6 separate regions of the Homo sapiens genome follow, and regions 2, 3, 4, 5 and 6 are each linked to region 1. The links are contacts of gene promoters, found by promoter capture Hi-C in blood cells and fetal thymus (Javierre and others, 2016). All regions are on one chromosome and are shown on one strand. Each heading gives the region's core, a stretch centred on a gene start or on the middle of the fragment in contact. The rest is flanking DNA. Distances are from core to core; before and after follow the strand shown.

Evidence for each region. The method cuts DNA at HindIII sites, captures the fragments that hold promoters and counts their contacts. A CHiCAGO score of 5 or more calls a contact.
Region 2: a contact is called between a fragment that was not itself captured here and the fragment with the promoter of CFAP91 in region 1, in 1 of 17 cell types (endothelial precursors). The highest score is 7.5, in endothelial precursors.
Region 3: a fragment that was not itself captured here is called in contact with the fragment with the promoter of CFAP91 in region 1 in 1 of 17 cell types (erythroblasts); the score reaches 5.7 in erythroblasts.
Region 4: a fragment that was not itself captured here is called in contact with the fragment with the promoter of CFAP91 in region 1 in 1 of 17 cell types (monocytes); the score reaches 5.3 in monocytes.
Region 5: a contact is called between the fragment with the promoter of ARHGAP31-AS1 here and the fragment with the promoter of CFAP91 in region 1, in 1 of 17 cell types (monocytes). The highest score is 6.1, in monocytes.
Region 6: a contact is called between a fragment that was not itself captured here and the fragment with the promoter of CFAP91 in region 1, in 2 of 17 cell types (neutrophils and endothelial precursors). The highest score is 6.4, in neutrophils.

Annotation. Positions count from the first base shown.
Region 1 is chr3:119,701,675-119,705,974 of GRCh38, reverse strand. CFAP91 (cilia and flagella associated protein 91) reads right to left here and starts at 2,953. Exons shown (of 18, transcript NM_033364.4): 1 at 2,753-2,953. The coding sequence starts at 2,876. LOC105374064 (a long non-coding RNA gene) reads left to right here and starts at 2,932. Exons shown (of 3, transcript XR_924391.4): 1 at 2,932-3,479. RefSeq lists enhancers at 2,635-2,694, 2,745-2,794, 2,788-3,467, 4,134-4,300 and a silencer at 2,905-3,074. The HindIII fragment of the contact is 3,012 bases long and covers 1,437-4,300 here.
Region 2 is chr3:120,191,954-120,196,282 of GRCh38, reverse strand. It overlaps GPR156 (G protein-coupled receptor 156), which reads left to right. Exons shown (of 10, transcript NM_153002.3): 4 at 2,859-2,988; 5 at 3,234-3,344. Among named protein-coding and RNA genes, the nearest start is that of GPR156, 91 kb to the left of the region's middle. The HindIII fragment of the contact is 820 bases long and covers 1,966-2,785 here.
Region 3 is chr3:119,275,930-119,280,287 of GRCh38, reverse strand. All of the region lies in intron 3 of B4GALT4-AS1 (B4GALT4 antisense RNA 1), which reads right to left. Among named protein-coding and RNA genes, the nearest start is that of ARHGAP31, 16 kb to the left of the region's middle. The HindIII fragment of the contact is 1,017 bases long and covers 1,321-2,337 here.
Region 4 is chr3:119,301,690-119,305,938 of GRCh38, reverse strand. The region is part of intron 1 of ARHGAP31 (Rho GTPase activating protein 31); the gene reads right to left. Among named protein-coding and RNA genes, the nearest start is that of ARHGAP31, 9.4 kb to the right of the region's middle. RefSeq lists a silencer at 323-617 and an enhancer at 2,807-3,026. The HindIII fragment of the contact is 2,127 bases long and covers 313-2,439 here.
Region 5 is chr3:119,320,220-119,324,244 of GRCh38, reverse strand. ARHGAP31-AS1 (ARHGAP31 antisense RNA 1) reads left to right here and starts at 1,485. Exons shown (of 2, transcript NR_046748.1): 1 at 1,485-1,631. All of the region lies in intron 1 of ARHGAP31 (Rho GTPase activating protein 31), which reads right to left. RefSeq lists enhancers at 100-956, 957-1,814 and silencers at 778-1,127, 1,178-1,537. The HindIII fragment of the contact is 4,466 bases long and covers 1-4,025 here.
Region 6 is chr3:120,175,920-120,179,944 of GRCh38, reverse strand. The region is part of intron 8 of GPR156 (G protein-coupled receptor 156); the gene reads left to right. The region is part of intron 1 of LOC105374065 (a long non-coding RNA gene); the gene reads right to left. Among named protein-coding and RNA genes, the nearest start is that of GSK3B-DT, 83 kb to the right of the region's middle. The HindIII fragment of the contact is 795 bases long and covers 2,088-2,882 here.

The DNA of each region.
Region 1 (4,300 bases), core at 1,704-4,203:
TCTCTTTTGAATTTGGATAATGTGTGTCAATTCCTAAAACCTAATAATTCATTAGTAACCCAACAAATACGATTTACTGAATGCAGACATTGGATATTCCCACCAAGGCTGAAAAGCTGCAAGAGGCTCAGGCTCTTTTTGCTCCTTCATTCAACACATGTTTATTGACTGGCTACTCTATCTAGGTGCTTAGAATACATCAACAAAACGACAAAAATCTTTGACTTCATGAGAGAGAGACAACAAACAACAAACATAATAAACTAGCAAATTACACATTAGAATTTGAGGGTTGTTATTTTTAAAAAAGAAGAAATCGGGTAAGGAAGATTGGGTTGCAATTTTAACTAGGGTGGTCGGGGCAGGCCCTTGAGAAGGTGGCATGTAAGGAGACTTGAAGGTGAGGGAGTTAGCTAGTTAGATATCTGAAGAACATTCTAGGATGGGAGCATGCCTGATACATCTGAAGAACAGCAAAGTCCCTAGGATGGGAACATGCCTGATACGTCTGAAGAATAGCAAAGAAACCAGGACAAATGAGGCAGAATGAAGGAGGGGAAAGAGAGTAGATAAGAGGCCAGAGAAGTAACTAGGGAACTAATCACATAGGGCTTCATAAGGAAGGGTAAAAGAACCTGGAAAGGTGTTCATCTTTGCACCACCACAGTTCTGTCAAGGTGGAAACCTGGCCCAAGGCCAGTCAATTCATTGGCCAGCCAACAACCAATCTTAAATTTCTAACTTAAATTTTCAGCTACAATACACAAAGACGCTATACAATTGGTGGTGAGCTTTAGGGCTAATTAGTCAAGAAGCACGCCACCCTAGTCCCTATCATAGTAAGAGAAATCCATACACAAGAGGCTTTCTGTCAGATGGAAGGAAGCAAGCATAGAGATGTGTTGCTTAATGATGGGGATACGTTCTTAGAAACGGGTTATGAGGTGAGCTTATCGTTGTGTAAATATCAGAGGGTACTTAACATAAACCTAGCTGGTATAGCCTACTCCACACCTAGGCTATATAGTATAGCCTATTGCTCCTAGGCTACAAACCCATACAGCATGTTATTGTACTGAATACTGTAGACAGTTGTAACACAATGGTATTTGTATATCTAAACACAGAAAAAGTGATGCATTGGGCTACAATGTTATGACAGCTACAATGTCACGAAGTAATTGGAGTTTTTCAACTTCATTATAATCTTATGGGACCATCCTTATACATGTAGTCCACTGTTGACCGAAATATCATTACTTGGGGCTTGATTATACATAGAAAGAAGGCTAGAGTTGCCAGATAAAATACAGGATGCCCAGTTAAATTTAAATTCAGATACACAATGAATAATTTTTTAGTATAAATGTGTTCCAAAATATTGCACAGGACAAAAATTTATACTAAAATATTATTCATTATCTGAAATTCAAGCTTAACGGTGCCTCTTGTATTTTTATTTGCTAAATGTGGCAACCCTAACAAGGTGAAAGGTCATAAGGTCAAAGAAAGAAAGCAGGAGAGCACAGCATCTTAGTTCTGATTTTCCCCATCCAGGTTCTCATCCGCCCTGGCTATACTTCGCTTCCTGTCCATGACTAGCGGCGAGATTGTTTTATAACAATCCAAACTTTTATTTGATCTACTCTGAGTGAATTTCTGTTCTTAGCAAGGGACATGGAAACATTTAGCAATTCCTCTGCAAAAGAGACACTTCGGCATCAAAGAAACAACCAGCTTAATAAATACTTTGGGGAGATGTTTGTCCTCCTTCTCAAATTACCCGTGAAAAAAAAACATGGTGATGTGTTTACAGGAGCTAACTTGATTTATTTCACAAAACCAAGAGTAAATACAGAAAAACACTGGCCAGAATATGTCAGCAATCATTACACAGCCTCTATCTAGGAATGTGTACCCTAGATTCCCACACAAAGGAGACTGGGATTCCCAGAGGCAACACCACATTGCTGAAAGCAATGCAAGGTTCAGGTGAAAAACCTGGGATTGCAGAGGGCAAAATTGGAAAAAATCATGCTTATAGCTGGTTACAGTTCTTGCCACGGCAAATTCAATAAACATTTATTTATTGAAGCGCCTAGTATATGTATCAGCACTAGAATAGGTGCTCAGAAGGCTACAAAAATGTGTAGAACAGGAACTTAAGGAACTCAAGGAGCGTGGAGAGAGAGAAAACATAAAATGGACAACCAAGCCGTTAAAATAAACTGGGGTTTTATTGGCCCAAGAGGAGCCAGCGGACCCAGTCTATAAGCAATGCTTTGACGCAGAAGTTAAAAAAAACAAACAACAACAACAACAAAAAACCTAAAAACAAGCATGGGATAAACTGGCACTTCTTTTCGCCCAACTTGGATTTGCCCAGAGAGTTGGAGAGAAAAGATCATTTTTGTAGGGCATTTTATGCAGGAACGTTGAGTGAATCTCCGAGTGTACAAATCGTTGCACACTTTCTGGGTACCAAAACGCCCGGAACAGGTTTCAGGAAAATCGCCCCCCGAAGCGGAGCGCACCCGCGCCTTTCGATGTACCCGAACCCCCGACCCCAACCTGAGTGCGGCCACCTGGAGGGCTCGGAGCTGCCCCCACCCGACCAAGGACAACCGTGGGCAAGAGGTCAGTCCAGAGGGTCGTGTTTCGTTCGCCATGCCCCTGGCCAGGTCCCACCATCTGGGAGCCCACCTGGCCTAGGAGGCGACGGACGCGGAGGAAGGTCTGCGGCGGTCCTTACCGTACAGAAAATCATACGCTCGATTGGAGGAGATGTGGCTCCCAGCCCGCGACCTCTCCCGGTACCGAGTTTGAGACACCTGCGGCTGGGCCTGGGGCTCCTCGATGGTTACTGCGTGGCTCATGGTGCCGCCTCTTTCCTCCCGCCAGCAAGGGACCAGCGGGTCAGGCCTGGCTACTGCGTGCACGTCGCTATGGTAACGGCCGCCGGCGCGCAGGGATAGGGGGCGGGGCAAGGAGGAGGGAGGAGGCCGCGGGGCGGGGCCGAAGAGGAGTGGAGAGAAGTGAAAGCAGGAGTGGCCAGGCCAGGGTCAGGAGGAGAGTGGAGGGGAAGATGAGAAGAGAGGGGAGGGGCAGGATGGGGGAGGAAAAGGCTGGCTTCCCTCTATACTCCAGAGCCAGCGGGGAGGCTGGGAGAAAGCTACTCTTAAGTCATTGATTTGCCAGTTACACCTCGTAGCCTCTCGGAAATCCCTGGGAGATCTCAGAACCTTCTAGAATAATTGGGTGCCTCCCCGCCCCTCCCCCCAGCCCTTTTCCAGGGGGCTTGTCCCGAGAGCTGCGGAATCCAGTCAGGTTCCTAAATGTTGCTCCTTAGCACGCTGTGAACTTTGCCCCACACTCATTAGCATCAGTGTTTAGGATGGGTTAGGACATCAGTAACTGTTGATCTGAGACTGCTGACCCTTTCTGAGTCCTGGGCATTAAATAACAGAAGATGATGTGGGGTAGGCACTGGCTCTGCTTTTGAAAACTATTTATAATGGAAAATTTTAAACATAAGCAAAAGTGATTCTACTTTTAATAACAAACCCTCAAGTAACCCATCCCTCAGAATCAACATTTAGCAACATTTTGCCAATCAAGTTTCAGTTTCCTTCCCCTCTTTTTTAAAGAAATCCTAGACATAATATTATTTTACCCTTAAATTAGTCTGCATCTCAAACTGACATAGATTTTAAAAATTTAACTACCGTTATCATATCTAACAAAATTAACAATAATTCCTTAGTACTATAAATAATTCCAATTTTCCTGTTTGAGTCCAAATTATCTTTTATAGTTGGTTTGTTCCAGTCAAGATCCAAAAAAAGTCCTCATGTTGCATTTTGGTATGTCTCTTAAGTCTTTTATCCTAGAGCAGTGAATTTCTAATCCTTTCAATAATTCTCTATTATTACCAGAGGTTCTTCTATAAAAGGAATCTTTTCATACCAACTCATTGGTTATCCTGAGATAACCAGGATAATCTCATAGAGGAAAGACTGGGTAAATGCTGGATTTGTTCTTTTTAATTATGAAATTTCAGAGACATGAGTTGGTGCCCTACCAAACTCCAGAGTTAACCACAAAGTTTTTGTTTGTTTGATATCATTATGAATGCATGCATTTTTTACAGATCTGATGTTTTAATCCGTTATGATCATTATTATTTATTACACTCAGATTATTAAAGCTAATGGCATGCCTTAGAGTTGGCTTCTTTGTCCTTTAATGTTGAGACGAGAAGTCTTCTTCCGATCAAAGGTTTTTCTCGATCGAAGGGTTC
Region 2 (4,329 bases), core at 1,126-3,625, 490 kb before region 1:
CACTCTCCATAAGTCCACAATCTGAAGACATGGAGGCTGAGGAGGCAGACCTGAATGAATAAGTGGATCATATGATAGGGCTAGATCTTAAATTTGGATACAGGAGACTTAAGGTAAACCACAGAAGCTTGTTGTTTATACATGTAGCTCTTTTGCTAAATATAAATGTGGCATGTGAAGATTAATAAATCTGAATGTAATGTACAGAATGTACTAGAACAGGAAAAAATTGGTGTTTACTGAGAGCTGAAGGTTACATCAAAAATCTAAAAAGTAATATTTTTGCATCATCTTAAAGTTTGCAAACAGTTTTGGCACATACATCATCTCATCTTTGCAATAACCTGTGGGGTAGATACAAAAGATGATGTTATTTTCATTTTCCAGATGAGGAAATAGGAGCCTGTTTCCTGGTCAGACAGGCTTAGTCAGCTGTGAGTGGCAGAGCTGGTGTTCCCACCTGTTACCCTCAACCCCAGTTCCATTGCTCCTAACATGATTGTATCCTGGATAAACATGGTATCAAGAATGGAGAGGCCAAGCGCGGTGGCTCACACCGGTTATCCCAACACTGTGGGAGGCCGAGGTGGGCGGATCACCTGAGGTCAGGAGTTCGAGACCAGCCTGGCCAACATGGTGAAACCCCATCTCTACTAAAAATGCAAAAATTAGATGGGTGTGGTGGTGCGTGCCTGTAAACCCAGCTACTGGGGAGACTGAGGCATGAGAATCACTTGAACCTAGGAGGTGGAGGTTGCAGTGAGCCGAGATTGCCCCACTGCACTCCATCCTGCACAATAGAACAAGACACTGTCTCAAAAAAAAAAAAAAAATGGAGAGTGAAATTTGGGAGGCTGAGGCAGGCAGATCACTTGAGGTCAGGAGTTTGAGACCAGCCTGGCCATCATGGCAAAAGCCTCTCTCTACTAAAAATACAAAAATCAGCCTGGCGTGGTGGTGGGCACCTGTAATCCCAGCTGCTCGGGGCTGAAGCAGAAGAATTGCTTGAACCTAGGAGGCAGAGGTTGCAGTGAGCCAAGATCATACCACTACACTCCAACCTGAGCAACAGAGAGAGACTCTGTCTCAAAAAAAAAAAAGGATGGAGAGTGAGAGAAAACTCAGAGACTTTGAAATAAGAAGTGAAAGAGGCCGGGCACAGTGGCTCACACCTGTAATCCCAGCACCTTGGGAGACCGAGGCAGGCAGATCATTTGAGGTCAGGAGTGCGAGACCAGCCTGGCCAACATGGTGAAACCTGTCTCTACTAAAAACACAAAAATTAGCTGGGCATGGTGGCGGGCACCTGTAATCCCAGCTACTCGGGAGGCTGAGGCAGGAGAATCACTTGAACCAGGGAGGCAGAGGTTGTGGTGAGCCAAGATCATGCCATTGCACTTCAGCCTGGGTGACAGAGCAAGACTCTGTCTCAAAAAAATTAAAAAAAGAAGAAGAAATGAAAGAAACTTGGCAATTGATTGGGTGTTTCTGATAAAGAAACAGAAGAAGGAAAAGGTGATTCCTAGGTTTCTAAAACCTGGAAGAGGTGGACAGTGAGATTATAATATAAGCAGCTGATGTTGGCAACATGCCTACTATGTGCCAGGCCATGTGCCAAGCATTTTGCCATATTGCCTTATTAAATCCTTACAACTCTTTGAAGGTAGATCGCATAATTATTATTCTCATTTTAGAAAAGGGTGTGCATGAAAGTTGCTCTCACTTTTAGAAAAAGAAAAAAATCTTCCCTCCAAAACAAGGCTAAGCTCAACTGGATTCACTGGCCTATGCTGACAGTACCTGGGGCCTGGGACAGTGGTTTGGTGTTCTTGTGTGTATGGATGTATTACAATGTCAGACACAAAGTAACTAAGCCGTGCTCCTGGCGGTTATGATGCTTGCAAATCCAGCACTGCCAAACTGTTTAGTGCCTCCTAGGTGCTTTGCCTGTGGTTAGAACAAGCTTCACTAAGTGGATAGTTTTGCCTTGGCCCTGCCTTTAAGGCAGTCTGCCATGTCATCAAGAGACATAGGTAAGAATGCTCTCCTCCTTAGTTATGATTTAAAAATAAAAGTATAACAAAGTATAATTATCAAATGACTATTAGTAGAAATGTTGCATTTATATACACTATTTAGATTACAATTCTTAAATACAATGTCTTTCCTTCTTGTTACTTGTAATTAATTAGTATCAGTCACTGTCCAGTGTGAGCCTGGCATTGCCCTTAGGTTAACCAGTTCACATCCTGAACTTCTGTTGGTGCCCAGGGTATTTGTCTGAAACCCTGATTATTTACATCTCCCTCTAACTTTCAAATTTGTCTCCAATCTCATCTAAAACTATTAATACTTGAGAAAAGGCCTTTCCCCAATTTCCTGCTTCTAATCCCTTTATCCTCTTTCTTTCTTGGAAAAGTAGAGGAAAATGGTTTACATATCAAATAAAGTAAATAGTATATGAAAAAAAAAAAACCTCTAAGGGCTCCAAACTCTGTGGATATCTACCTGCTGGTTATTTATTCACTAAGCTGCACATAGCAATCCCCTAGCAACCATAAACTTCATGCATAAAATCCCAACTCTTCTCCAATACCACCTGTTTGTAGGTAGTCATCCTTCTTTTAAAAGACTTGGGAGTTATACAAGGAATAAGTGCCAGAGTTTAGTTCTTTGTGAAAATAAATTTAAAGAAATTATAAGTTTTCACAGGGCTGTAAAGATGTTTCTTCCCAGTGGTCCTTCACTCCAAGGCTGCACTGGAGATTATGCTGGTGAGGAAGCTTTGGTCTCGTAGGTCTTTGGCCCCAAGGCAAAAGGTCATGGCTGTAAGTGTCTTTCTTCCTGATCCCCTCTAGGATTGTGAAGATGTCCAGTCCCAATCTGAACATTGTGACCTTACTGGGCAGTTGTCTCACTTACAGTAGCGCTTACCTCTTTGGGATTCAGGATGTTTTAGTGGGGAGCTCAATGGAAACTCTCATTCAGGTAGGTGAAGTTTTAAAATTTGGTTTTGACTATAAAGTTTTGATTATTTTTTTAAACCAGCTGCTCCCGTGGGTGGTGGTTTCCTTTATCCTTGGAGTGGGCACTTTTCGAGGGAATCCCAGAACACTTGGTGAGGTTCACTCTGTACCTCGTGCGCTCTGTGGGACCCAGACCCTACAGATCAGAGTGTGTGGAGAACTGATAAAGGTTCCTCTTGTGACTCTTCTGTCCCCTTCCACCCATAGACAAGACTGTCCATGCTGTGCATTGGGACCTCCCTTGTGTTTGGCCCCATTCTGGGAAAGAGCTGGCGACTCTACAAGGTGTTTACCCAAAGGGTCCCGGACAAGAGAGTGGTGAGTAGGCAGCAAGTACACAATGCTTGACTGTAGATGGTAGCTTCAGCATTGGTTAACAGCTAGAGAAGCTCATGCACATTACTGAGCCTAGCCCCTTTCAGGACATCCAAAGTTCCTGTTTCTCATTCCAAACCCTGGAATCATGCAGCCTCATAAGGCCTCAGGTCTGGAAGGCTGTGGATCAGTGCTGTTGAAGATAGGGCTTCAAACGTGGGCTCTGGTTCCTATGTACCCCAGGCCCTGTGGGGACATGTGAGCTGGCCAATACCTGGCACCAGTGTGAGGCAGAACAAGATACCCAGAGACTGTTGTTTGGCACAGGTGCGAGCTGGAAGTGAAGGGAGGAAGAGTGATTACAGAGAAACTATAGCAAGTAAGTAGTTATTTCCTTCCCTGGAGTCCAGTTCTTTTCTATGTAGAAGGCAGTTCTCTGTACTGAGAAGGATGTGCCCAAAGCAGTGAGCAAGGAAGAGCAGATAGAATCAACTCTAAGTTATGTAGCAGCCAGATCACCGACATGTCCCTGGTATCAGTCATCAACTTAACCACATTTCCCCATTTTATCAGGTTGTCTGATGAGACTGCTCAAACCTCAATTCCTGACCATTATCCTCATTGGGTATAGGCCCTGCCCAGACCCAATATATCATTCAGTTGGTGTTTACTTCTCTGGAATGATGGGAATTTATTTTAGCAAATGTTATTGAATCATGGTGCATACTTACCAAAAGCTCAGCTGTGAGCAACCATACCTATGAAGAAGATTGCCTAAAAGGACAAAAACTGCATTCATCCCTCAAGAACACCAATTTCTTTTTTAAACAGCTTTACTGAAGTATAACTGACATGCAGTGAACTGCACATATTTAAAGCATATGATTTGATAAATTGTGACATGGATATACAACCAAGAAACATGGTGCATAATGAACATATCCCTCATCTTCAAAAGCTTCCTTGCAACCCTTTGTTATCTCCCTCC
Region 3 (4,358 bases), core at 580-3,079, 420 kb after region 1:
ATAGTATTCAAAAATAGAGGTTTGGAAATCTTTTGTGTTCTATAGTGTTTAAAAAACCATAATGACATTTGACCCATATGCACAGTTGTAGCATTAAATCAATCTTCAATGTTTCAGAAATGAACAAACCAGGCAGTACAAGACCCCCTTGTCCCACTCCACCATGGGCACTAGACACTGCCAAACAGCAGCGGGACACTTCCTTCCTAGAGTCACATGTGGACGAGAGACTTCACAAGGCCTGAAAGAGCCAAGTGCTGTGAGTGGAATTATTATTATACCAATGCCTGAATCTGCACAGCGTCTTGCATTAGGCTTTAAGTCTGAATCTGGATCCATTTGGGTTAAGATTTGTGTCCAGTGGCCCAGAGGGAAGAAGCCTGGCAGGGTGTGTCCCAAGGACCTCACATTGGATTCTGGGGTCCCTCTCAGCAGCTGGGTTTGAGATGATTTCTCTTGCCTCTTGTGCTGTATCTTTGGAGTTCCCACACTGGACAGAGTCTTTGGGTAGAAAAACCTTCATCTCTCACAGAATACAGCAGTCCTCAGGAAAGAGAATGAACTGTCCATTTGACTTATTTTTAATAATCTTGTTATATTTTGTTGCCTCATTCTGCCCTGCTCCCCCTCTTGCTCTGTTTCGCACCCCTTTGGGAACGTTGCCTCTTTCTAGCTGAACCAGGGAAGGAGCAGAACCCTGAGCTCAGTCTGTCTCCCCCCAGGGTCTCTGAATACTGGAGCCAGCGATTTTCTTAGGTGGGTGGGGATCTGTCCCGCCCCGTTCATTGTGTTCCATGGTTTCCTGTCCACTGCCTGTAACCCTTTACCAATCTGCCAGGCGCCTCTTAACACAAAAGGGAGGAGATGGGGGAAGGGAGTACTGAGGAAAAACATCCCTATAAATAGCCCTCTTGAACAAAATTGTTTTCCCCAATACACAGTTGTTGTTAGGCCTTGATGCCTAGTAATCTGCCTCTGTACGCTCTTCCCCTTCCATTTCAGCCCTCCCTACAGGCCTGGTTTTCCTACTCAGTCCTGTCCATGAGATGGAGGTGCTGTAAAGGTTCTTGTAAACATTCGTGTCCCCAGAGGCTCCTCCCCAGCTCTGGGCACACAGACTGTGGACTCAGGCCAACCTGGGCTCCATGCCTGACTCTGCCACTGATTTGCCCAGTGGTTGGACACATGACTTAACTCCTCTGAGCCACAGTTTTCCCATCTGTTAAATTGGAGTGATAATATCTACCTTGTTAGACTGTTGTGAGGATTAAATAAGATAATGAAAATGCCTAGCACTTTGTTTATACCGAGGTAGAAGCTTGATACATAAATGAGAGTGATTTTTATTGTCTTCTCACTGAGCGATTCTTCCATTTCCTCCATCATTATCCAGTTTATTCATGTCTTTTTCACATTTCCTTATCCTGATCCCTTGTCCCATGTTAAATATATTTATAAGACTTTAAGTTTATTTTATTGTCATTAATTTATTTTTACCATTCCCAGTTCCAACATAGTTTGAGATGATTTCCTTTACACATAAGTGCTTAGAACCTGGAAAATTTTTCAGAAAGGGCAAGACTGTTTCTTGTAAAACAGTTTTTCTTTCTTTCTCTTTCTTTCTTTCTTTCTCTTTCTTTCTTTCTTTCTTTCTCTTTCTTTCTTTCTTTCTTTCTTTCTTTCTTTCTTTCTTTCTTTCTCTTTCTTTCTCTTTCTCCTTCCTTCCTTCCTTCTTTCTTTCTTTCTTTTTCTCTTTCTTTTTTTTGACGGAGTCTTGCTCTGTCACACAGGCTGGAGTGCAGTGGTGAGATCTCGGCTCACTGCAACCTCCGCCTCCCAGGTTCAAGCGATTCTCCTGCTTCAGCCTCCCGAGTAGCTGGGACTACAGGTGCGTGCCACTGCCCCCGGCTAATTTTTGTATTTTTAATACAGGCAGGGTTTCACCATGTTGGCCAGGCTGGTCTCGAACTCCTGACCTCAGGTGATCCACCCGCCTTGGCTTCCCAAAGTGCTGGGATTACATGCCCGAGCCACCGCATCCGGCCATAAAACAGTTTTCTAACACGGAGGGCACATTGCTTTTTGTGGGCTATTTGGGAAATGGTTTTGATTGTGGCTCACACTTTTCTTACATCTCTGGTATCCCAGGACCTGTTTTCATTCCCATCTCGGGAATACAGTATGCAGAAGTTAGTTTGGAGACAAGAGTTATAACAGGTCAAACATACAAATTACCCTCGATATATATTCGCTCCCCTAAAGTTGTGAACATTTGTAAGTTGGATAATATAGGCCTGTTGTTTTTCATTCTACCTTTTGGATATATGTTTCCAAGCTTGTGGTGGGGGGGTGGGTAGAAGTGGGGAGAAGGGGTTCCACTTTGTAATCAAAATCACACTTGAATCTTAACATTTATTTCAGAGAATATTCTTCTTTTTTCAACCTTCAATACACAAGTATTTTAATCTCCATTTTGATCTTAAAAGAAGCTAGTCAAATACACACAGATCTCATTTACTTATGTGCTTTCTCAAAGTAAGATGCATATGTATGCATGTAGGTATGTATATATCTATATCTATTTCTATATCTGCATAACTCACATTAATTTGATTTTGTGGAACCTGATTATTTAAAGCAGCCACAGGTTTCTGTTCTAATTCTAGGTATTTAGCAGAACTTTTCCTTATTTAAAAATTTTTTTTGAGACAGGGTCTGTCTCTGTCACCCAGTCTGGAGTGCAGTGGCACGATCTCGACTCACTGCAGCGTCCACCTCACAGGTTCAAGCAATTTTCGTGCCTCAGCCTCCCAAGTAGCTGGGGCCACAGGCCTGTGCCACCATACCTGGCTAATTTTTATATTTGTAGTAGAGACGGGGTTTCACCATGTTGGCCAGACTGGCCTCAACTCCTGACCTCAAGTGATCTGCCCGTCCTGGCCTCCCAAAGTCTTGGGATTACCAGCATGAGCCACTGTACCCGGCCAGGTATTTAGCAGAACTTTTTCAATTGGGTATCCACCTGGATGTTTTAAAAAATTTTCTATAATATTAACTTGCCTAGATTTACTCTTGAAAAGGATTCCCCCATACACCCACATTGCTCAGATAGTCCTGATTTCAAACATTCTGCCCTATAGTCAAACCATGTGCCAAAAGATGTGTTCTGATTTTCGCTTTAGAAAACATGGCTAATGTTTTGAGTTGAACTGTGTGCCACCAATTTCAAATGTTAAAGTCCTAACCCCTAGTACCTCAGAATATGACCTTATTTGGAAATAGGATGGGTACTACTAATTAGTTAATATGCAGTCAAACTGGAGTAGGGTGAGTCACGAATCCAGTATGGCCGGTGTCATTATAAAATGGGAAATGTGGACATCCTCCCTGTCTACTTACACAGGGAGAATGACATGTGAAGATGTGAAGATGAAGGCAGAGATTGGAGCGACGCCTCAAGCCAAGGAGTGTCAGACGTTGCCAGCAAGCCACCAGAAGCTAGGGAAGAGACATGGAACAGATTCTCTCTCATAGCCCTCAAAAGGAACCAACCCTGCTGGCACTTTGATCTCAGACTTCTAGCCTCCAGAAATGTGAGATGATAAATTTCTATTGTTTAAACCACCTGGTTTGTGACACTGGCAGCCCTAGCAGATGAATACAGCCAACATAATTAAGGAACAGAACTAGCCCCCAGTCCTGCAATGTAATCTATTACTTTAATGATCGAATTGGTAGCAGTCAAACCTCAGAAGTCTTTCTTGGTGGAGCCCCCAGTAAATACCTGTATCTCTAGCTGGCACTGAGATTAAGCAATTTTATACAAATGCTGGTTTCAGCAAGGAGCTCCAGTGGAGGTAAAGGAGGATAGTTTCGGAAACAGCCAAGGATTCACCTGACTATAGAGGTTGCTGGGAGGTGGGAGGTTGCGGGGCTCCTTCCCACATGCTTTCATGTTTTCAAAGACTGTTCTTGTAGCACCAGAGACAGGAAGCTCTGTGGAGCCACTCTATCAGCCCTGTAGCCTCCCTGAGCTGGCTTCTCTGGCTCTGGCTCCCTGATCCTCCATCCCCACCTATGCCTCTGCAAGGGACTCAGTGAAGGAGCTATCTCCCTGCTACATTCTGGGAGCTGAGCACTGAAATTTTTAAGGAAATGTGCAAAGTCTGTTTACATACAACATTTATACATTTATTTGGCCAGCCAGTCAATAATTTACTAAGCATTGTCTGTATGCTAGGCCTTGGATTCGGTGCTGAGGACACAAAGTTGGAAAGACACCATCCAGGCCCTCATGAAGCCCTCGTTTTTGTGGCAAGAGAGAGATGCACTGTGCAACAAATGGTATGATGGGTATA
Region 4 (4,249 bases), core at 127-2,626, 400 kb after region 1:
GGCTTAGGAGGGGGGAAAACAGGACGTTTACAGATTACCTGAAGGGGATATTCTCCTGGCCTTTAGCTATAGGCTCTGTGTCCAGGGCAGCTACAGCTTTAATGCAGCCTCAGAGGGCCCCCAACCCAAGCAGCGTTTCTGTCCTCAGCTCTGAGCTTGATTCAGAGACCTGCATTTGGCTTTGCTTTTCCAGAAAGCAACATGGCTCTTCTCCATTAGCACCAAGCTCATATTCTAGCTATTAGCCAAACAAAGGATCTTCCAAATATAGGCCCCAAAAAGCATGTGCACTTTGAAGGCCACAATAAAGCTTAAATAGCTAAAACTTGTTAAAAAGAAAGCCAACAATTGTCGCCAAAAGTATGAGTCCTTAGCAGAACAGCAAGACAAAAGCCAGAAAGAGGAACAAAAATATGCATTGTAGGGGAGGGGCTGGCAGGGAGGTGTAGATTTATATGGAAGAGTTGACATCATTGTTTCCCAATAATACCCAGCATGCAGGAAACAGATGGGAAAGAAGTGGTGGAAGGGGCTACTTATGGTAACAGGGCATGCTCTCTGTTTAGAATCCTGCCATTTGGAACCTAAGTGTTTTACTTTGAAAAACTGGGGATGGGAACTCAATTGCCAGAAGTTTTATTAAGTCTAACTAAATCCTACTGAACTTATCACCTTGGCAATGCATGGCAAAATGGAGCTCTGCATATCAGACCTGTTTTACTGCTAGCATAGCTGTGTCTCGTTGGGTCAAGAGCAGACAAAGCCATGGAAGGAGAATTTAATGTTGCACAGACACAGCTGGAGTCTTGCTTCTGCCGCTTCCTGGCTGGGTGACAGGAGGCAAGTTACTTAACCTCTCTGAGTTGGTCCTTCTTCATAAGATGGGGACAAAACAGAACTTTCCATATAGTGGAAGACTCTGCAGTTGGACATTTATGCCATACAGATAGATTTAATCAAGAAACAGAGGGTCAGTTAGCACCATTTTTTAAAAGTTTTATTTTATTTTATTTTATTTTATTTTATTTTATTTTATTTTATTTTGAGACAGAGTCTCACTCTGTCACTCAGGCTGGATTGCAGTAGCGCCATCTTGGGTCAGTGAAACCTGTGCCTCCCGGGTTCAAGCAATTCTTTCGCCTCAGCCTCCCAAGTAGCTGGGATTACAGGCGCCCACCACCAAGCCCAGCTAATTTTAACAGAATTCTCCATTCTTCTGTGCTTGGGCAGGGGATAGACAAAGCCAAGATAAGCCAAATCAAAGGTCACTCTTGTTATTATCAGCTGGTTTGCCCTCTCCTGAGGTTAGGTTCACTCCCCCTGCAGCTGAAGGCAGGCTTCTGTCACTGCAGCCAGTCTCAGCCTCACCACTCTAAGTACCCTCAGCTGCCTTTCCCAGATTTTAAGCCCCTTCTTCCCCAGGGTGCAGAAGGGTGTGACCAATTCCAAGTGTCAGGCAAATTCCTGTGGTTTTCTGCCTCTAGAGACCAACCACCCCATCCTCCCATCCTCCCATAGCTGTCATAACTCGGTCAGATGATGTTTGTTTTATAATTTTACTGATTTTTCCCCTGGTGAAAACAACCCACTCTGTCTGATGGTTCTTTCTCACTTGGCTGCCTCACATGTGCACATCCCCTGCTTGCTCATCCTCTACAGCCCTCATTCCATTCTTCTTTGTACTTCTTTTAGTTGTTTTCCCTCTTTGAATCCTTTAGGTCAGGAGCAACTTGAGAGCATCTCTGTAAACCCAACAGTGTCTGGCACGTTAGAATCCCATTACATACTTATTGCATTGAATTGAAAGTCCCATTCCAGATAGGATCTGATTAAAACATGAAAAGAGGCCGGGTGCGGTGGCTTACACCTGTAATCCCAGCACTTTGGGAGGCTGAGGCAGGCGGATCACGAGGTCAGGAGTTTGAGACCAGCCTGGCTAACATAGTGAAACCGTGTCTCTATTAAAAATATGAAAAATTAGCCAGGCATGGTGGTGGGTGCCTGTAATCCCAGTTACTTGGGAGACTAAGGCAGGAGAATCGCTTGAACCCAGGAGGTGGAGGTTGCAGTGAGCCGAGATCGCACCATTGTATTCCAGCCCGGGCGACACTGCGAGACCCCATCTCAACAACAACAACAACAACAACAACAAAAAACATGAAAAGAGCTGGGGAAAGAAATATGCATAATCACACAAATTAGCTCAATTGCCTTCACATAGCCTATAGATTTATGTACGGTTTGCCGGAATCCTAGCTTATATGTCAAGCTGTTTTCTAGTGTCTATGACAGCGAGAGCTGGTATATGTTGCTTTTGAGGGGAGGGGTGACATTCACCCCTCTCCCTCCAGTAGTGGTGGGAAGGGGGCCTACAAGGCATTCTGGGCCAGCATCAGGCCATGGGCGTGGTACCAGGGCCTGGTATGCATCAACCAAGCTTAAACGAGAACAAAGAGTGCCTGAGACTCGATCCCAGAAACTCAGTTGGTTCTGGGGCCTTGCCAAGAATGTGGTTCACACCAAGGAGTGATTGGTGAGGAACTAGGAAAAGGCAGTGTTTCTGGGGAGTTCTGTGCAAAGCCTGGGTCAGTTTCTATTTGGGAGTAGCTATGAACCCCTGTGGGGACCATTAAGCAATTGGATTCCTGATAATCCAGCACATCAGCAATGTGCCTTATCCTGAGCTTCCTAGAAGGGCACAAACACTGGTTTTCTGAAGAAGGAAGTAGGGTCAATGAATCAACTGCTGCATGTCTCACATGGGGCTCACCCTGAGAGAGCCACAGTGAGCTACCAGATCTGCCTTCGGGGGAACTCACCATCGATTTGCATACATAAAGTGTTAGAGAACAAAACAACAGGTAGAATGCATAACAAATTGGGTACACCTGACCCTAAGGCAGTGGGTATTCCAAGAGGTGAAGAAGATGTGGCTGCAGTGGGCAAGGGACCTGGGAGGAAAAGATAGGGTCTGGCTGGGCTTCAAAGCTGGTAGGTTTAGATCCGTGTGTGTGAAATGCACCTTGCAGAGGGTAAAGTGCTATGCAAATGTCCATCGTTATTATGACTCTTCATGGTTTAGGCTGTGGGAAAAACAAAGCAAAGGGAGCAAAATCACTTTTCATAGGTTGTGGCAAAACTGTTAATGCCAAATTATGAAATATGCTATCCTAAGATATGTGGTTCATGCCTGAGACCATGGCCTTAGGAGTCATACAGATCTTGATTTCAATTCTGCCTTTCCCATCTCTATAATCTTGGCATCACTTGGTTAAATCACTCAGTTTTCTCTTTTGTAAAATGGGGATTAAAATGCCCAATTCTTAAAGATACTGAAATATTACTTTGCATGTATAAAGTGACTGGCACAGAGTAAGCAATCAACACAGATAAGTAGCACTTACTACCAATGAAAATAACAACAAGGCCTGATGTGGGACTCAGACTTCATGTCTAAGTCCTTTCTCTTCAAGAGACCTCCTCTTCCTCCTCTTCCCTTCAGCCATTCAGCAGCCTGATGTTTTCATCTTTCTCTATCAAACTCTGCTCTTACAAAAAAAAATCTAGTACCAATACTTATTCTCCTCTGAATTACAGTCAGCCTGTTTGTTCCCAGGGGTTTTAAATGTGAAGCCTTAGTTGAAATTGTATACTGCGGCAAAGTCTAGAGAGACAGAGAGTGCTATCTAGACTCCTGAAGTTCCAGCAGGCTGTGACCCTCACTGAATCAGTACTTGAGGCCAGCCCCTTGGGGGAGAAATAGCAAGATCGGTTCAACTCAAGAGTGTCATTTCTGTTGGTGCATAGGGGGAAACAGCTCAGGAAATTGGGTAGGACATGGACCCATAGTCAAAAAGAAAAATAACTTGAAGCTTGGGGATAAGTATGAAAATGTCACATTGGCTTAAATACACAGCAAGCACTGAATGGGAAGAAAGCTAACTCCCTGTTCCTGGGCCTCAAGGCTGGTCTGAAGGAACCACTAGAAGGAAGTGGAGTCCTGAGATGCAGACGCCAGGGTGGGAAGGCGGCTCAGAGCAAGTGTGGTCTGTTCTGGAGGAAATGAGCAATGGGTAGCCCCAACTAGAAGAGTCTATCACTACTTTGTTCCAGAATCTTTAGCTAGACTTAGCTAATGGCAAGGGAGGTGGCAGGGCAGTGACAGTTCTTATGCCCAGAGTCCTGGAACTTAGAGCCCCATCCCCTTTCTCCACCCACTGCTGCAGAGCCTCACCCACAGCCACAAAAG
Region 5 (4,025 bases), core at 236-2,735, 380 kb after region 1:
AGGAGGGTTTGAAGTGAGTTGAGAACCTTTACTGTCCTGAAGATGGGGTAGGGGCTAGACAAGGGTATATTCTAAAAAGAGGAAAGCGCTACTGTAATAATCTTGCCTAGGATTACATACAGATGGGCATAACAGAGTCCCAGGACTTCACCCCTTCGGTGTAGAGCAGGGATGGCAGGGATGGCAAGAGCCCCACTTAGGATACCTGGAAAAAGAAATCTCCGCAGCAAAGGGTCCTTGTGCTGACTTTTCTTTTTCATTTACGAGTGTACCCTCTGTCTCCTTGGGGGCCCACCTTCTTATTCCCAGCAGGAAAGGGGAAGGGGGAGGACAGGAAATGTGGAAACCGCGTTAACAGCCTGATTGTGAACCAGCACTGCGACTGAGATGCGAGGAGGGAAGGACAAAAGTCCCTCCCTCGCTTTTCAAAAAGTAAGCCACAAAAGTTATAGAAACATTTTCTATTAAACATCATCTCCATTTTGCAGAGAACCTAAGGCTCCGAGGACTTGCCCAGGGCCATACAGCCGGTGAGCCCCAGGGCTCAGCCACAGCCCAGGTAACGAGGACAGGGCTTGCTCCAGCCACCATTGGCTGCCTCTTCGGCCTCCCTCTCTCAGGTGAGACAGTATGTCAGGTGAGGCAACTGAAACAATGTCCCTCAGTTCGGATGCATCCTCCCTCTTCGTTTCCTGTCATGAGACAGGTTTCTCCTCTTCCTGGATGTGGTTAAAAAAAAAAGAAGAAGAAAAGAAACAAAAGAAAAAAGGAAAGAAACGCAAAGCAAAGCCAAGCCCAACGTCTTGGCTCTCAGGGTTGCACCTCCTTTCTCTACCCGCGGGGTCTGGGCCGGCGGGGTGTGGCCGCAGCCCTGGGGCGCGAGAAGCCCATCCGGGCCCGAGGTGCTGGGCGGCCTGGAGCGCTGGCTGCCCCCAGGGCCGGCGGCTGTCCCTGGGGTTTCCCCGCTTCTGGGCTTTCCCCGCTTCTGGGCTCGGTGGCCGCGCGGGCGGGCGCCAAGTGACTCAGCCGTCCCCGAGGGCGTTCCGGGAAGCGGCCGGGGGCGCGGGCTTTCCTGTCGCCGCAGCGTGTGAGTCCCCAGCGCCGAAAGGGGATCAGAAACCGCTGGGCGGAGCAGCGGGAGGAAGCTGCGGCGCGCAGAGCAGAGTCAGCGCCACCGTCTTTCGAGCTGGAGCGGAGGGAACGTGGCCTTGACGTTGCTGAAGCTGAAGCGCCGGGCGGGCGCCCGGACCCCGGGGCGGGGCAGAAACGAGTCCGTTCCCTACTGCGGGGCGGGGGCAGGGCTGGAACGGGAGTTCAGGAGGGACAAGGACGTGGAAGGAGCCCAGCAGAGGGCACCCGGGACCCCCGCGGCCGGGCCGAGTTTGAAGGGAGCCCCTCTCCCCCTCCCCCTGGCGGAGCCCCCTGTAGGGTCTGACCTGGTGCCCCGCAACAGGAGCGGGAGGAGGAGCAGGCCCAGAGCGGCCGGGCCCCAGCCTAGAGGGGCGCTCGAGGGGAAGCGAGTGAAGTGAGGGCTCCGCCAGAGCAGCACCCCCTTCCCCGCCGTCCCTCCCGGACTGGCCGGTTCTCGTCAGAGATTCCTTTGTCTTCGACGCTGGTCCCTCCACACCAAGGTGGGAGGCTGAGGTGGGAGGTGGCAGAGCGGTGGGAGTGGGAGCAAGGCCGGAGCGTGGGTGGAGGCGCTGGCCGCGGGCTTGCAAGGATGGCACAAGGGAGACATCCAGGACAAACCATGGGGAACACAGCTGCCACTGAGAGAAGCTGCCCGGAGGAGGAAGGGGCTGCAAAGTTCAACCACCAGGCAAGGCAAGTCCACGAACAAAATCCCGGCTCTAAAAACAGAGCAGCAATTGTCACTGTGGGTTAGACGCTTTGAGTTACCTCTATTTTCATTTATGTCTAAGATAAATTCAAGAGACAAGGAGAAAGTCAGGAGGTTAAAATTCCAGCCTCTGGTCCCAGCTCCCTAAAGCCAGCTCCCTTCTTGTCTTTGCCAAAGTTTGCTTCTATGAATCAGTAATTAACCCCCACTTTTTTTCTTATGTCAGAGTTCCTTCAGTCACAACCAAGAGAGTTCTGACTAATAACACACCTTTTAATCCAGCAATTTTACTTCTGGGAGTTTATTCCAAAGAAATATTACATAACAAAAGAGCCATATGCCTCACAATATTCACTGTGGGCTTGTTCATAAAATTAAAACAATCATAACTATAAATGTCCAGTAATGGAGGCAGGGAATAAACTGGCATATTTATATGATAAACTACTATGGGCCGGGCGTGGTGGCTCACGCCTGTAATCCCAGCACTTTGGGAGGCTGAGGCGGGCAGATCACCCGAGGTCAGAAGTTCAAGACCAGCCTGGCCAACATGGCGAAACCCCGTCTCCACTAAAAATACAAAAACAAGTTAGCTGGGCGTGGTGGTGTGGGCCTATAGTTCCAGCTACTTGGGAGGCTGAAGCAGGAAAATCACTTGAGCCCGAGAGGTAGAGGCTTCAATGAGCTGAGATCGTGACACTGCACTCTGGCCTGGGCAACAGAGCGAGTCTCCGTCTCAAAACAAAACAAAACCTACGGAGCCTTAAAATGTTATATGTAGGGTTTTATAACTTGAATAAAGACTTCGGTTATAAGAAAGCAAGACACAAAATCATATATATATATAATATATATATACACACACACAGTGTAATCACAATATGAAAATGTACATAGAAAAAAAACACTTGAAGGAAATCCACCAAAATGTTACATCTTTGGGTGATAGAATTACATACAAGTATTTTTTTCTTTCTAAAACATTTATGTATTTCCCAATTTATCTACAATGAGGATAAGCATGTATTATTAAAAAGTATGAAAACATTGATTTTAAAATTTTACATATATAGTATATAATTATATATACATAATACATATATATATACTATATATATATATATAGTATATATATATATGTGAAATTGCTGCTGAATAGGAAATCACCGGGCCTGGGTGAAAGATGATAAAATTTACTTGAGCAATTTTTCCACTAATTGAATGATTTTTCTGCAATTTAAAAAGGGTATATGGAAGTTAAAGAGGATGGGTCAATGTTTATACATCTGTATTAGTTCGTTTTCACACTGCTGATAAAGACATACTGGAGACTGGGCAATTTACAAAAGAAAGAGGTTTAATGAACTTGCAGTTCCACATGGCTGGGGAGGCCACAAGTCATGGTGGAAGATTAAAGGCACTCAAGAGAAGAGAGAGCTTTTGCAAGGAGACTCCCGTTTTTCAAAACCATCAGATCTCGTGAGACTTACTCACTATCACAAGAACAGCCCGAGAAAGGCCTGGCCCCATGATTCAATTACCTCCCACCAGGTCCCTCCCACAACACGTGGGAATTCAAGATGAGATTTGGGTGGGGATACAGCCAAACCATATCAATGTCCAAGATATTAGTGAAAGGGAAGGGCATGCCACAGTAGGCCAGAGGAGAGAAAACATCTGAGTTTTAGAATACACAAAAAGAAAATGATGAGATCGCAGCTGATTCTTGATTGGTGAGGACTTGCTGGTTTGTGGGCAGAAGTAATGGAACTTTTAATGGCAAAGGGAAGAATACACTCAAACATTATTTAAGATAGGAGGTAAGGGAGTAATGGGTAAGGTTACTGCATCATGAAAAGTTTTGTTTACAATGGGTTTACTGTATTTATCAGGATAATATTTTTTAATCCTGAAGAATAGGTGTGCAAAATGAATTTAACATCTTCACATTTGGCCCAAGGTTGTTGATACCAGTATTATTATCTTACCTTAGCAATAGGATGAGTATGCTTATTTTGGGTTGGAAAATGCCTAATGATCATGTAGCCCCTTATTTGGGGCCTATTCCTCTTCTATAGGGAGGGAAGGAAGAATATCAAGAAAGCCTCATGTCTAAGTGCCCTGTATCCCTGGAGATCTTTATGTAGCAGCAGAGAATAGACACTGATAAAACCAAGTTTCGCTA
Region 6 (4,025 bases), core at 1,236-3,735, 470 kb before region 1:
AGAAATGGGCTCTGAGAAGCAAGGACTGTTTCTCCCTGGGAGACCGGGGGCGGGGGCGGGGTGGGTGGGCAGGGGTAAGGGTAGGCAGGTGCCTTTTGGGAAGCCCACCCCTTAGGCCCTGCAGCCAATATTGTTGGATTGGTAGCGATCAACAATGCAGAGAACTGGTGCTGAAGGGTACAAGGCAGTCCTGATTCCATAAACAAGCAAGCCCTGCCTGACAGCAGCCTACCTGTTGACTGTCAGGGCGGAGAGGCCTGGTTGACTGATTACTGGCAGAGGAAAAGGAGGAGTTTTTGTAGAAATAAGTACCCTTTAAGGGTAAACTCTGGCCAGGCACAGTGGCTCACACCTGTAATCCCAGCACTTGGTGAGGCTGAGGTAGGCGTATCACTTGAGGTTAGGAGTTCGAGACCAGCCTGGCCAACATGGTGAAACTCTGTCTCTACTAAAAATATGAAAATTAGCTGGGCATGGTGGTGCACGCCTATAATCCCAGCTACTCGGGAGGCTGAGGCAGGAAAATCACTTGAACCCGGGAGGCAGAGGTTGCAGTGAGCCGAGATTGCGCCACTGCCCTCCAGCCTGGGCAACAGAGCTGCTAACCCCTTTCTTCCTTGCTTGCCTGCACTATAGAGACAGCAACAGCTAGACTCTTCTTTTGCCAGCTTCCCATAGAGATAGGAGTGCCTATATGACACCATTTTGAACACTAGAGGTTTTCTGAGAAGCTTCTGAGAAAGCTTTTGCTTTCCTGAAAAAGGTTATAAGCATGGCTAACATCACCCTTTTTACCTTCTTCCTGCCTTGAATGTATGTGATTCCTAGAGCTATGGCAGCTCTCTTGTGAACATAAGGAAAAGACTAAGAGAATATAGTTATAATACTAGGAAGATACAGCTCTTTCCATGTAAGATTATAAATTCTGGAGGAAATGATCTATGAAGGGAATCTGCAGTTCACAAGAAGAGGACTACAAATGTCTAAAGATTTAGAGAAGCTGCCTTCCTCTGGAGTAGAAGTGTTTAGAAGATACCGGACTTGTCAATAGAATTCAAAGGATATTGTCTCTTCTCAACTAAAGCAAACTATCATGAAAAAAAGCTAATCTTAATAAAATATTGAATAAGGATTAAAAATATGGTATTAAATTTAAAATCCCAATAGAAGCATTGACTGGGCAATTAGACACTACAAAATATTGAATTAGTGAATTACTTTAAGGAAACAGAAAATAAGGAAACAAATGAGAGACTAGATAAGAAAATATGGAAAATGGCCAGATGCAGTACCTCATGCCTGTAATCCCAGCATTTTGGGAGGCCGATGTGAGCGGATCACCTGAGGTCAGGAGTTCGAAACCAGCCTGACCAACATGGTGAAACCCCATCTCTACTAAAAATACAAAAATTAGCTGGGCGTTGTGGCATCCATCTGTAATCCCAGCTACTAGGGAGACTGAGGCAGGAGAATCGCCTGAACCCAGGAGGCAGAGGTTGCAGTGAGCCAAGATCACGCCATTGCACTCCAGCCTGGGCAACAAGAGCGAAAATCTGTCTCAAAAAATAAAATAAAAAGAAAAAAATAAAATATGGAAAACATCTAGGAATACAATTGAGAGCTGATAGGAGTCTCTGAAAGAGAACAAAATAATTTGGGGCAGAAGTCATTATCAAAGAGCTATCAGAGGAAAATGTTTCTGAACAAACAAAGCCTTGGTCAGAAAACTGAATGAATTGGCAATCTCCATGATGGCGCCCTGCTTACTGCTCCTCTCTCCATCCTCACCTCTCACCACTGCCCCCTTGCATCGTAAGCCTCAGCCACATCACTTCCCCTTTGCCTGGTGTTTGAGTCCTCAGCAGCTAGGACAATTGTGACATCTGGGTACTCTACACACAAAAATGCAGAATGAAGTGCTGCTTGAAATCTGCCTTCCAGGTTTTCACTAAGCAACAAACACTTGATTTGTTGAATTGGGAATGGAAATGGAATGATTATGAGGTACAGGAATTGGGTGGATGGACTGCACTGGCCTTGCTTTCCTTCTATCTCACTCCCTCTTTCCCTCCTAGCTTTCTTAAGCTTCCTTTCTCTTACTCTGTCTTTCCTCTTCCATTTTCTCCCTTGTGTTTTTTTTTTTTCTCCTCTGGAACTAACTGACCATGATGTGAAACTAAAAAATATATTTTGTAGTCTGTTGTATTTTAGGTTTAGATGGTAAGTAGTTCTTTTTCAAAATATAAAAGAAACTGAGGTTTGTTAGGTTTCTGTGTGTTTCCCTCTGGCTCCGAGGTCTTTGGTAGAAGAACGATTCTCCCTGTGATACTTGCACTGTGTATTCCTAGAAGATAATTTGGGAAAGTAATTTGAGTAAATTTGGGAAAGTGGGTGAGGGGAACTATCTGGGTAAGGGTTGGGGGTTGCAGCAAAACGGGGTTCCTTCTTGCCAGTGAGCTTTCAGACATGACTGTGATGGGAGGAGTTTGTGAAAGCAAAGGCACAGATACCCCCAGGGCAGCGAGGCAGCGCCAGAGAGCGGGTGAAATGGATGACATTACTAAGGAGACAAGGGGCCCAAGAAGCCTTCTTTACACAGGCACTCAGGAAATGCCTGAGTGTTTATGCCAAGCACTGAGGTCATCACTAGAAGTCAGCCAGCCGCTGCTGTTCTGACCTGAATATGACCCATCCCCCAGCCCTCTGCTCCCTCAGAGAGGCAGGCAGGTCCTAAGGTAGGACATTGTTTTCTCTCTCCTCTAACCCCGAAAGCATTTCATCTGCTCCTCCCTGAAGATGTGCAGGCCTTTCTAATCTGCCTTATAATTATATGTATATGTCCCAGCACCCCTACTAGACCAGTGAGCATTTTAAAGAAAGCTTCCTTCATTTGTTCATGCATGCATCCATCCATCCACTTATTAACTGCTGGGTACATGCACTTAAACACAGAGTCCGCCTCTAGGTCTAGTGGGGAGCAAACATGAAAGGAATTATCATACATGTGTTAAGAGCTTTGAGAAAGGCCTTCCCCAGCCCATCTGAGAACTCAGTGGCACCTTCTCAGAAAATGAGGCTGGGCATGGTGGCTCATGCTTATAATCCCAGCACTTTTCAAGGCTGAGGCGGGTAGATCGCTTGAGCCCAAGAGTTCGAGAGCAACCTGGTCAACATGGTGAAACCTGGTCTCTGCAAAAAATGCAAAAATTGGCTAGACGTGGTGGCTCACGCCTGTAATTCCAGCAGTTTGGGAGGACAAGGCGGGCAGATCACGTGAAGTCAGGAGTTTGAGACCAGCCTGGCCAACATGGTAAAACCCCGTCTCTACTAAAAATACAAAAAATTAGCTGGGTGTGGTGGCGGGCGCCTGTAATCCAGCTACTTGGGAGGCTGAGGCAGGAGAGTTGCTTAAACCGGGAGACAAGGGTTGCAGTGAGCCGAGATTGTGCCATTGCACTCCAGCCAGAGACAGAGTGAGACTGTCTCAAAAAATATAAAGCAAAAATTAGCCAGGCATGGTGGTGCATGCCTCTGGTCCCAGCTACCCAGGAGGCTGAAGTAGGAGGATCACCTGAGCCCAGGAGGTTGAGGCTGCAGTGAGCTGTGATTGTGCCACTGCACTCCAGACAGAGTAAGACCCTGTCTCAAAAAAAAAAAAAAAGAAGGAAGGAAGGGAGAGAGGGAGGGAGGGAAGGAGGGAGGTAGGAAGGAAGGAAGGAAGGAAGATGAGGTGTTCGAGCTCAGTCTTGAAGGAAACATAAGAGTTCATTGAAGAGATGGGGGAAAGTAGGTGGCATTTCTGATGGAATAACATCATGACCAGAGGCAGGGAGGCTAGAAAGAGAGTAGCGTATGTTTGGAGCACCATGGTCTTTGTTATTTTTGAAGCACAAATGGAAACCAGGGGGAGAATGACAGGACTGGGGAGAGACACACCTGGGGAGCTTCTGAGGCCCTGCTGGACCCTGTTAAAGAGTTGACATTTAGTCCCACCATATTAGTTTCCCACTGCTGCTATAACAAAT